Linked DNA regions of Homo sapiens: regions 2, 3 and 4 are each linked to region 1. The links are contacts of gene promoters, found by promoter capture Hi-C in blood cells and fetal thymus (Javierre and others, 2016). All regions are on one chromosome and are shown on one strand. The core of a region is centred on a gene start or on the middle of the fragment in contact, and the rest is flanking DNA. Distances in the headings are between cores, read along the strand shown.

Region 1 (2,871 bases), core at 95-2,594:
ATTTAACAAGCCTTATCAAATTATATCCTTTAAATATTTGCTGTTTATGTCAGTTATACCTCAATAAAGCTGTTTTGTTTTGTTTTGTTTTGTTTTGTTTTGAGACAAAGTCTCGCTTTGTCACCCAGGCTGGAGTGCAGTGGCGCAATCTCGGCTCACTGCAACCTCCGCCTCCTGGGTTCATGGGTTCACGCGATTCTCCTGACTCGGCCTCCCAAGTAGCTGGGATTAAAGGCGCACACCACCATGCCCAGCTAATTTTTGTATTTGTAGTAGAGACAGGGTTTCACCTTGTTGGCCAGGCTGGTCTCCAACTCCTGATCTCAGGTGATCCACCTGCCTCAACCTCCCAAAGTTTTAGGATTACAGGCCTAAGCTGCGCCTGGCCAAAAAGAAAGCTGTTTTTTTAAAACTATCTGCACTCCCTACTTGGGAGGGTTGGACTCAAGTTCCCACATCTCTTTCCTCTTACGGTTATATTAAGGGCTTAGTCATACATCCCTAAATTTCATATATCCCAACAGGGACTTGGGCTGGGACAGGAAGCCCTCTTCCTCCACCTCAACTACCACTTAGCCACCCACCATTTTCTCAAACCTCTTCCTTTCCCCACCGGACAGCTTAAACCAAGTCACACGTCTCATTGGTCTCAACAGAAATGAGGTCCCAACTCCTCATTTCCCAAGATATTTCCATGAACACAGCAATATCCTTTCCTACCCTGATTACCCCGCACCCTCCATTTCGGGTCCTTCTCACCCTGATCAGTGAGAATTGTTCTAGCAAGCAAACCTTAAATAGACCTCGTACCCTTTCTAGATTGCAAAGTAGATAAAAATCCAACTTTCCGTTAATTCAGGGATTAATTACTGAGCATCACTTATTTCTTGGGCAGTGGTTCTCAAAATGTGGTCCCAGGACCAACAGCTTCAGGATCACCTGAGAACCTGGGCTGCCACCGCCCCCTCCCCCACTACTAAATCAGCAACTCCGGAGTTGTGGGGCAGAAGTCAGTATTTTAACAAGGCCTCCAGGTGATTCTGATGCGCGCTACTCTTCTGGGGGTGTGAAAAACCAGAGAGGACAGGAAGAAAGTTAGAATTAAAGCATACCTACGAATCAGATAAGCGATAGGGGGAGGGGTGGTTATTTAAAAAACGATAACTAATTAAGAACTTGTATGTAGTAAGAAAACCTACCCTGCCCCAGAGAGCTTTCCCGAAAGATAATGGATTCCGACATTCACCTCAAGAACCGGCAGACAGAGCAGCAAAGGATCTGTCGCTGGCCAAGCAGGTCCCTGGCTAAGGCACTGCTAGGGACAGCTCGCGGCGGTTCGGGGGTTAATTCTCGGCAGCCCTCCGTCACCCGGTGCCCCACCCCCGCCCTGCGCCTGCGCGGTGAAGCGCCATAGAGCTGAGCACTCCTCCCAGATTCCTAGAGCGGACAGGGCGATGGCAGGTTCGCCGGGTGTGAGGCTTCACAGCGGTCCGGTGACCAAGTCGAGGTAAGGGTGATGTCGGCTCGCGGATAGCAGAGGAGTTCCGGGTGATCTTGCCTAACGAGCAGGAAACTGTGCATGGTTTCTCGAGTCCTTGGAGAGTGAAGGCCCCCGGGGTCGCTCCCGGGCACGGAGAGACGATTGGTTCACGGCCTAGTGTTCGGTTTGTTCCCAGTCAGCCCTTGCTGGCCTTGGGTTCAACCGAATGAACGCCAGAAACTCTGTGGGGTGGGGGGAGTCACCAACCGTGGTGCATCCATACGAATCAGCCTACCGTACTGGGAAAGAGCCACCTGAATTTGTGAATGTTGTAAAAGCAAAAGGAAGAAAAATGATCAGTAGTGTCATTTTTGGATAGGAAGGGCAGCGAATAACATAGTGTTAACCACTAGAATTCACTGTAAAATTCCCCTCTCTGCGTTATCTTTCCAGTTATACCTTTTTTTGGTAGCATTAACCCCTAATTTTGTTTGAACATCTCTAGACTTGGAATGGGGAATGTGTGTCTTAAGTGGGTTAATCCCTGGCTCTTGGATGATGGGGAGGAAGCCTAATACATTCTGAGAGAAAAGCAACTGGAAGTCAAATGAGATTTTTTGTTTTCTCCTTCTTTTATATCTTGAGGATTTTTCTGGTGGTCTAGTCTCAGAGATTACATCTGTAGTCAGCACAATGATTCCCTTCCAAGCCCAGTGGTGCCCAGTTGCCTCCAGGTCCCAGACCTTTATGTGGACAAGAAAAGCTTACAGAGGAAATGGTAATTCTCCACTTGCACACTGAGGTGTCCAGTTGCAGCCCATGGAGATCCAGTTCAATTATGAATCTCAGGAACACCACCTTCTGTCAGGTGAGAGGCAGGGTATTATATCTTTCTTAGTGGCTTTGGCGGGGTGGGGAGGATGAGGGGGTGTCACTCTATGCTAGTGTCTTCAAATGATCCCCCTTAACTCTGTTAGGCAGTATTACCTCTTTAGTGTACCAAGCATAGTCACATGACTTTATTTCAAAATCTGGCGATCAAATTCTCATGCAGCTCTCTCCACTTTTTTAAGACCCCAAAGTCATTCATTTTTCCCTGTATAATGACCTCATTGCTAATCTGTCAGTTTTGGTCATTTTTCTTATCTACTGTAGGGGCATAGTTAAAAGTTCTGGAGTCTGACAACCTAGATTCAAACAGTAGTTTTGTCACTTAACTGGCTCCAGTAAGTTACTCATATATTTTACGATTCTGTTTCCTCACTTTTCAAGTGCATAGTACTTCATACCTTGAAGTTATTTTGAGATTTGTATCTATGTATTACTCCAGAATAAAGAACCCCAAAATTTAGTGACCTAAAACATCAGACTTCTTAAACCACATTATTTCT
Region 2 (2,871 bases), core at 119-2,618, 230 kb before region 1:
CTTAGTAAGGTCATAGGTTTGCCTAAAAGGATCGACTGAGGGACCTCGTTTTGGAGAAGATGAGGATCCTTGGCTCCCAGAATCTGTTCAGAAATCTTTCCAGCTAAAAGCCAGTTTCTTAACTACATATGTTTCAAAATCCAAAAATGCAAAGTTTAAGTTCACTAATGATTTCACAAATGTCCTAGGCCTACTACTAGATTTCGTGGGTGCCACTTATTTCGTTTAACATTTATTCATTTTATTGCCAAAAGGTTCAGGCCGAATTTCAGGTGAGTCGCTGCCTCCATGGTGGCGGCAGTCAGATGATTCTCTCTGTTCTGGTTGGGACTGAGTGGACCACAGCCACTCAAGGATCCCTTGAGAGTTGCGAGTGTTCTTTTTGATTTGAGGATGTGCCGTGAACGGAAGCCAAATACTAATAGACAGGACATCCTGTGATTCCCTTAGTTTACGATGGCCAAGGATGTGTGGGTTTTTTTGTTTGTTTGTTTCTTTTTTTTGATAAGATGATTACTTGGTTTTTTTCCTGTTAACAAGGGAGCCTAGATGATGATGTCCATTTGGCTTTTAGGACTCTTAACTAGCAAACAACTAAGCCCCTGCAAAATCACATGAAGACATTGGAAAATCTTTTTATGTAAGGCAGAGATGATTTGGTCATAGTTCGCAATGAAGTGACCGTCAGTTCTATTGGCTTGAAATAATAATGAACCAAAGAGGGGAAATGACCGAAGTCGAAGTTCTTGAAATTAAGGATGTTAAAATAAAATTCTGAAATCTAGTATACTGTGGTATACCTATACGGTTAAGTATTATACAAATATTACATGTGAAGAAAATATGAAAAAAGTTCACAAATGTACCAATGTTAACAGAAGCAAGATGATTATTACAAACGTTTATATGGATTATATTAGTTTTCCAGGGCTCCCATAACAAATTACCACAAACCGGGCGGCTTCAAATTGATCCTCTCACAGTTGTGATGCCGGAGGCTAGAAGTCTAAAACCAAGGTGTTAGTAAGGCCATGCTCCCTCCAACAGCTCTGGGAGACCCTTCCTTGTCTCTTCCCGCTTCTTTTGGCCCCCATGTGCTCCTTGGCTTGCAGCTTCATCACGCCCATCTCTGCCTTTCATTATCACCTGGCCTTCTTCATCTGTGTTTTTTACATGGTCGTCTTTTAAGGAACCAGTCATTGGAGGGCCCACCTTAATCCAGTATATCCTCACCTTAACTAATCATATCTGCAAAGACCTTTTTCCAAATAAAGTCATAATCTGAGGTTCCAGGTGGATATGAATCTTGCAGGGACACTATTCAGTTCTCTGTGTGTGTGTGTGTGTGTGTGTGTGTATGTGTGTGTGTGTGTATACATATGAACCCATTTTTATAAATAACTGTATGTGTGAAACACATACACACAGGTACCCCTCACCAGACACACATAAAAGATGTTTAGGGCCAGATGTGGTGGCTCACGCCTGTAATCCTAGCCCTTTGGGAGGCCGAGGTGGGCGGATCATGAGGTTAGCAGTTCAAGACCAGCCAGCCTGGCCAACATGGTGAAACCTTGTCTCTACTAAGAATACAAAAATTAGCCAGGTGTGGTGGTGCCAGCCTGTAATCCTACCTACTGGGGAGGCTGGGGCAGGAGAATCACTTAAATCCAGGAGGCAGAAGTTGCAGTGAGCCGAGATCATGCAACTGCACTGCAGCCTGGGTGACACAGCAAGACTCTTGTCTCAAAAAAAAAAAAAAAAGATGTTTAGGAAGATATGAATATGAGTGTTATAACTGGGTGATGGAACAGTGGAAATTTTAATTTTATTTTTTATCTGTATTTTCTGCATTAGTGAAAATGGACAGATTTTTTTAATAGAAAAATCTGGCTTTTTGAATAAACAGTAGCACTTTGACATCTTAAAAAAATTGTAGATTTTTATTTTTACTAGCATCCTACTTTAAGTTTGTTGTTACTTTGCCTCATCCAACTTTAATGAAATATTTTAACTTTAAATAATTAATCCTTTGTAGCATTATACATATATAAATATACATAATGAACCCATTAATATATTTGTGATATTAAATGTTTATTATGCTTATTATTATAACAATAGCTAAAGCTGAAATAATATAAAGTAAAATAGGTTTTTGAGACATTGAATCAACCAGTGTGATTGTCAGGTTTTTGGTTTAGGTTTGGAAAGCCAAAAAAAGAAAAGAAAACTTATAATTCTTACTCAATTGCTGAACTCAAACCTTTTTTTCCTTAAAAATGTTTTTAAAGTCTCTAACCCTAGGAACCTAGAAACTCGGTATGGAGGCAGGATGGGGAGGGACTTTACCAAATTTTTAAATTTCATCTGTTCAAATTGGCTCAAATACTGGGTAACTTTTAACACATGTATCTACTCTAGAACTACTTCATCCACTGACCCTTCTTATTTAGACATTTGTGCCTATAGTAACATCTCTAGTTATTTAGTCAAAAAGTTTACTAGGTCTTGTGGTAATTTCCTTTTTCTTAATTATCTTTGAATGCTTATTAACTAATTGTTACTGTTCTGTCTTTATCCCAAGTTTAACAAAACATTCTCAATTCAGTAATGACCCCTATCCCTAACATTTGTTAAACTACTGCAGTATACTGTATTAAAAATTTTGTCCTTTGCTCCTGTAAGTCCTCATAGCATAGCGCTGCAGAATCTAAAGAGGAGACTGCAGTTCAAAAAGCTTCCCTGCTTCCACTGTCCTTCCCAAACCCATGGTCTTACCATGTATCTGCCCCTCTGTTTTTTTGTTTGTTTGTTTTGTTTTGAAACAGAGTTTCACTCTTGTTGCCCAGGCTGGTGTGCAATGGCGCA
Region 3 (2,871 bases), core at 214-2,713, 170 kb before region 1:
AATTGTGTAGGTAAGGAGCCTAAGTAATTTACAGAAGGTAATCTTAAGAGGAAACCAAGGAGGAGCTCTCTTTCTGGGAGGCTGATGGTTTTTATTTGGTTTCCTTCTTGTCTTGCTGGTTCTTTGTGTCTGTGACTTTGACATTGGCATCAGCTCCTCAAGCTTCCCCTGGTGTCCTTACCCTGGAGAGATGCCTCTGCTAGGTCTTATATAATGAATTATAAAAACTATTATTGAATTTCTCTGGGTTAGGCACTGTGATTGGTGGTGAGAGCATAAGGTGACTAAAACAGATGAAACACCTATGTCCTAGGGTTTATGTTCATGGGAGAAGTAGACATTAAAGAAATAGCTGTACCACAACAGTGGAAAGTGTTCAGGGCACTGTGGCCTCCCAGACAAAGTGACATCTGAGCTGAGACTGGCAGGGTGGTAGACCTACTTGCTCAGAGGAGGTAGGGGACAGGAAGGAGGCAGAGAGAATACAGCCTGACTTGCATGGTGTATTAGTTCTTACAGTGCCATAAAGAACTGCCCAAGACAGGATAATTTATAAAGAAAAGAGGTTTAATTGACTCACAGTTTCTCAGGGCTAGGGAGGCCTCAGAAAACTTAAAATTATGGCTGAAGGGGAAGCAAACATGTCCCTCTTCACACGGCAGCAGGAAGGAGGAAGTGCCAAGCAAAGAGGGAAAAAGCCCCTTAAAAAACCGTCAGATCTCATGAGAACTCACTCAATATCACAAGAACAACATGGAGGTAACCGCCCCCCATGCTTCAATTACCTGCCACGGGGTCCCTCCCACAACATGTGGGGATTATGGGAACTACAATTCAAGATGAGATTTGGGTGGGGACACAGCCAAACCACGTCACATGGGATGGTCATGGAGTCATAGAACCCTGGCTTGTTCCTGAGAACATTGAAGGTGCCATACCAGAAATTCTTAGATAGCTGTTGCTCTGTGTGAGACTGAGCTAGAGAACAAAGACTGCATCTTAGGCATTTTTAGGGGCCTCCAGTGCATGGCCCATGGCAGGCACTTAACAAATATGTGTGTAAGGGGTGTTGATCATAGGTAGTCTTCGCACTGCTTTCTGTTAGACTTCCTTTATATTAAAATATGAGGTATTGCTTATAAAAAGATCTGAAAGAACTTGATATTTCCGAGCTGTCTCCCCAGCTGTTAGGCTGGTGGCTGCCTCAGAGAAGATTCTTTGCCAGATCAGGTGTCCTCACCCTGCCTCCCCTGCCTGCTTGTCTACTTGTTTTCTTTACCCAGTTGGTTTGCCTTTGGGTTAAAGAACTTGGTCAGCGGGACATGGAAGTAGTGTTCCAGGAGTGTTTTATATGGGCTTCAACAGAGCTGAAGCCCATATACCAGTCACAAAGCAAAACGTCAGCTCTCTGGAACCCTGGGGAAGCTCTTCTGCACAGATTTACCCTGAGAATATTCAAACTATTTTAAGTCTTTCCCAATTTAACCATTCTCATTTTAAAGTATATTAGGCACCTCCCTGTGTTTTTAAAGAAGTTTATTTTTTAAAAATTTTTAACAGAAAGGCTTATATTTAAAGGCTGTAATGCTGTCAGTGCTTCTAGGGGGTGTGACTTGCATCCGGAGCTAATGACCCCAGGCACCTGAAGACACAAATATAAATTTTATGGTCTTTCTGTTTGCTACTTTGTAATTAGGATGTTGGTTGAAACTTGTAACTGCTGTCACATACCTGTCTTTATAACCCTTCGGCTCTTGCTAATCTCTTGGTACTAATAAACTGTGAAGTTGGAAATAAACTGTAAAATTGGAAACCGCATCACTAAAAGTTTTATTTACTTGTTTATATAGTTAGTTAAACTTTTGCTCTTTAAGCAAATACATGTTCAGCTGAGCATTGTGCTACGCACTGGGGTTACAAAGATGAGTAAGATGTGTTTCTTGCTCTAAATAAGAGCAGGGGTTGGGGAATTAGGCCAGTGGGAGCACAGAGAAGGAACACCTGCACCACACTGAAGGGGTAGTGGAAGACAGAGATGCCACTTCACAGGGACTGTGTTCAGAGGAAAAGGGAATGGACGGGCCCCCAGTAGTGGCTTGGAATTTCATAATCCATGAAGTACACTGCGTATACATTGGGACATCTATTTTGGCCGCAGAGGCCATTCTTGTGTCTGCGCGTTGTTCTAGGTAGTGAGAGTCTATTGTGACCTGAGCTCCAGATAGGCGAGGTCTTACCTGAAACCAATGGTTTTTCTTTTTTCCACTTCACAACATTATTAGTGATGCTAAGTGGATCACTTCCTTAAGGTGCTGACTCTCAGATCTCCCCATTGTAAGGGTGTGTTTTCCCCTTTAGAGTAACACATGTAAATATCTTGTTCCCCAAAACCCTCTCACCTAAAGTTTACGTGTCCAATGACGAGCCCTTTGTGAATCGCTTATTAGTTACGGATGTTGCAAAATTGTGATTTATTTTCTAGTTCCAGCATTTCTTGCATATTTAGTGGCTGCCAGTGTTCCTTAAAAAGGATTGAAAAGATCTTTATATTCTTTTCTCTTCCCTCTCCCTCTCCCTGTCTTCCAGCCCATCTCTTTTTCAGTCATTATAGATTAATAGATTTTTATTTATCCAGTGCATTACAATAAATGAAGCTATTGTTCTTCCTGATATTCAGCTGTCCCAAGTGTGACTAGTTGAGAGCCCCTTCAAGCTCTTGATATAAATCCTGGAGCACCTCCTTGCTTTTTGACACAAGATATCCTAAGCTTACCCTGAACATTCCCTGCACCATCCCTAGAATCAGCCATTTCTCAAGAAGCCCTTTTATTGCAGAATAACATTTAGAAACCAAAGTTTGGGCATCAGGAG
Region 4 (2,871 bases), core at 372-2,871, 150 kb before region 1:
AGGGAAAAAATGGATTCAAAGCTAGGATTTCAGGGCCCAGCAGTGTTCCTCCATCAGCATGTTAGACAACTACACAGTATGTTGTTAGTTTTGAAAGACATTCACTCAAGGAAAACACCATCTCAACTTTGCCCGCTCACCATGTCCCTTGCCCCCATGTAGCCCATTTCCCAGGTTATGCTCTTTTCTTTCTCAGGGTCCTCTTTGGTGGGCAGCCACTCCCCGAGATGTTGCCATCAGTTTTCTGCAGTCCAAAGAGGGTATGGTTAGGTACGGGTCTTCCTGCCTCATTCCTCTTCCTCTTTGTGTAGGTTTCAGCCACAAAACTGTCATTCACTCTAGGGGACCCCTACTAAAGGGTAACTTCAGGTGTGCAGCCCTGAGCTCCAAGGCTCTGCACCATGCCACACACTTGCTGTAAGGCTAGAAGTGAAGACCTTATTAATAGGAGCATAATTGCGAGGGAGAATCATGGTTCTGCAGTCTGGTGTAGACACTGGAATAACAGCACAGAAAAATCTATGACTCCCAATATCTTCTAGAATAAAGAATTTTCCCTCTTTAACACAAGGGCCCTCCTTGTCATTGACCTTAGCTAAACCATGGCAATTCATAAATAGAGGAAACATTAATGAATTAAAAGCATTCCTTATTTTTTAACTAATATTTGTACATTTTCTTAGTCTCTTTCCAAGTCTTTGCCTCTTTTTTTTCTTTATTTTTATTTTTTCCTTTGACAGATGGTATCCCTTCCTGGATCATTCATTTCACCTTGGTTTCTAACTTTAGGTTTACTTTCACTTGTTATTTGACTTAGCAGGTGCAACAAAAACAAGAAACAAATGTGCCCACCCCACTTTCCGCTTAACTGAAAAGCTTAAAATAAATTTCTGAATTATGTATCCTGAAGCTTTGAAATTTCTTTATTAATCGATGAAATATGAATTCTAAATTCTAGCATTGAAGCTTTTCACCAAAAGAAGTCTCTCCAAAATAAATCTTTTGCAGCAAAGTGATATTTATTGAGTTATGTGGAAAAGATGGCTTGTATTTTTCAGATTATTACAACACACTGTGCAGAATTAGACAGATGTTCCGTGGTGTTTGGTTTCCCTTTCTTCTCTCTCCTGCTCACTCTGCATTATAGCAGCAGCTTATTTCTCTAAGGCTGGACAGCCTGGCTCTCGGCAGTGACGTCCTCCCACACCTGGTCACAAGTAGTAGTGGCTGTGCTATACCCAGCATCATGCTTAACAGCGTGTTGCCCTTCTGAGCCTGTTGTACTCACTGATCTCTTTAAAAACAAAAAATAGCTCTTGTAAAAGGTCACAATAACTCTATGCACCTGATACTGCAGTGGTTCCTAGGCCATTCTTCATCTGCTCTGGACATCTCAGTCATACCCAATGCTCAGTGGATCATGACCAAACTCCTGTCATGTGGATGCACGTGAGTGGGTAGCAGGGAGTCAGGATCCTGCCTTCTCCAGCAACCCCTTACTGCTGTATAACTTGCATAAGCCTCCCTGGTGACTCTTGCAGGAACCACTCCATTGCCCTCCAGCTCCCCAGCCTTCTCAGTTATAAACATGCTGGCCAGATCTCTTAGCCTGCAAAGAGAACTTTCCCCAGTCACCATAGACCATTCTCCTTCCTGAAGGCTTGGGGCAGACCATTCGTTTATTTAGAGAAGAGCTATACATTCTTCTTTCTGGTCCCATCTTAAACGTCTTCTGTTGTGCTGCACCCCAGATGGTGTCTCAGATGCTTTGGGGAATCTTTAACAGCTGAATTTGAGTCAGTCCTCTTAGGCTGCACCTCCAGCCTCTGCAGATCCCCCCTCATTTCCCATGGATGGTGGGACCCCATTATTCTCTCATCTCGGCATTCAGGGAACAGTTTCCTTAGCGGCCCCTGGTCACATGTCATCGGGCTGGGCAGGAAGCGTCCCTGATTGCGTGCTCCACTTCTCCCTCTCAGGAAGCCCAGTTTCATCCTTAGTACCCCCCCTCGTGCCCGCTGTCGGCTGGTTATAGCACTTCCACTGCTACTGTCAGATAGGAAGTGATCGAAGCAGGGGGCAAAGAGAAAGCCCATATTTGTTCTAAGCAGAAAAGCAGGAAAAAAAAAAAAAAAAAAGAAAGAAAAACACCTGTTGACCTGAGAGAAGTAAATTCCAGAAGGGAACCAAGAACTCTTCCCTTCCCTGGTGAGTATTTCCATTATTCCGTTAAGGTTTAATATGCATTCAGATTACTTTTACTAAATAGGACACCATAAAGCTTTTGTTATATATTAAATGTAAACTGAAAGGAATGTAAACATATGTATTGTTAATTATAAATATAGATAAGTAATGACATAATAGATGAAAAAGTCTTATTCAGATGTATCACATTCATTTTACATTACCCACCTATTGTCGCATGGTAGAATAGTTTTTTGTCTCTGAATATGTGAATAACTTGACTTGCATTGATCTTTTTACATATTTAATAAAAAAAAAAGTATATGTTAAAATCTGCCTGGAGTTACAGATTCTTAAATTTTTATGCTGAAGCTTCCCTTTTCAGTCAGCATGTGAATAGGAATAGATTTGTGTGGATTTACACATCTACCCACATTTTATTATGATTTCCCCGGGGCGGGGGTTGTCTTTGTTTTTATTGATGGCCAATGTTGTTAACAAGAGTTACAGACTCGTATTTGATATCAAATGTAGCAGCTATAATACCTTTTAAAAACTTTACCAAAAAAAAAAAAAAAAAGACATAAAGAGAAAACATTCCCTTGGGAAACATTCCACCTGCAAGCAAACAGAATCCTAGCTCCTGCAGGTCCAGCATACTCCATCTGGACAAGACAGTGCTGG

The links. The method cuts DNA at HindIII sites, captures the fragments that hold promoters and counts their contacts. A CHiCAGO score of 5 or more calls a contact.
Region 2: a fragment that was not itself captured here is called in contact with the fragment with the promoter of ZSCAN30 in region 1 in 1 of 17 cell types (activated CD4 T cells); the score reaches 5.2 in activated CD4 T cells.
Region 3: a fragment that was not itself captured here is called in contact with the fragment with the promoter of ZSCAN30 in region 1 in 1 of 17 cell types (naive B cells); the score reaches 5.5 in naive B cells.
Region 4: a fragment that was not itself captured here is called in contact with the fragment with the promoter of ZSCAN30 in region 1 in 1 of 17 cell types (naive B cells); the score reaches 5.2 in naive B cells.

Annotation. Positions count from the first base shown.
Region 1 is chr18:35,288,885-35,291,755 of GRCh38, forward strand. It overlaps ZSCAN30 (zinc finger and SCAN domain containing 30), which reads right to left and starts at 1,345. Exons shown (of 4, transcript NM_001112734.4): 1 at 1,200-1,345. It also overlaps the pseudogene ZNF271P. RefSeq lists an enhancer at 1,462-1,621. The HindIII fragment of the contact is 2,453 bases long and covers 1-2,241 here.
Region 2 is chr18:35,054,208-35,057,078 of GRCh38, forward strand. All of the region lies in intron 1 of MAPRE2 (microtubule associated protein RP/EB family member 2), which reads left to right. Among named protein-coding and RNA genes, the nearest start is that of MAPRE2, 14 kb to the left of the region's middle. The HindIII fragment of the contact is 2,740 bases long and covers 1-2,738 here.
Region 3 is chr18:35,123,572-35,126,442 of GRCh38, forward strand. All of the region lies in intron 4 of MAPRE2 (microtubule associated protein RP/EB family member 2), which reads left to right. Among named protein-coding and RNA genes, the nearest start is that of MAPRE2, 84 kb to the left of the region's middle. The HindIII fragment of the contact is 2,606 bases long and covers 161-2,766 here.
Region 4 is chr18:35,140,952-35,143,822 of GRCh38, forward strand. MAPRE2 (microtubule associated protein RP/EB family member 2) reads left to right here. Exons shown (of 7, transcript NM_014268.4): 7 at 1-2,519. Among named protein-coding and RNA genes, the nearest start is that of ZNF397, 99 kb to the right of the region's middle. The HindIII fragment of the contact is 1,315 bases long and covers 965-2,279 here.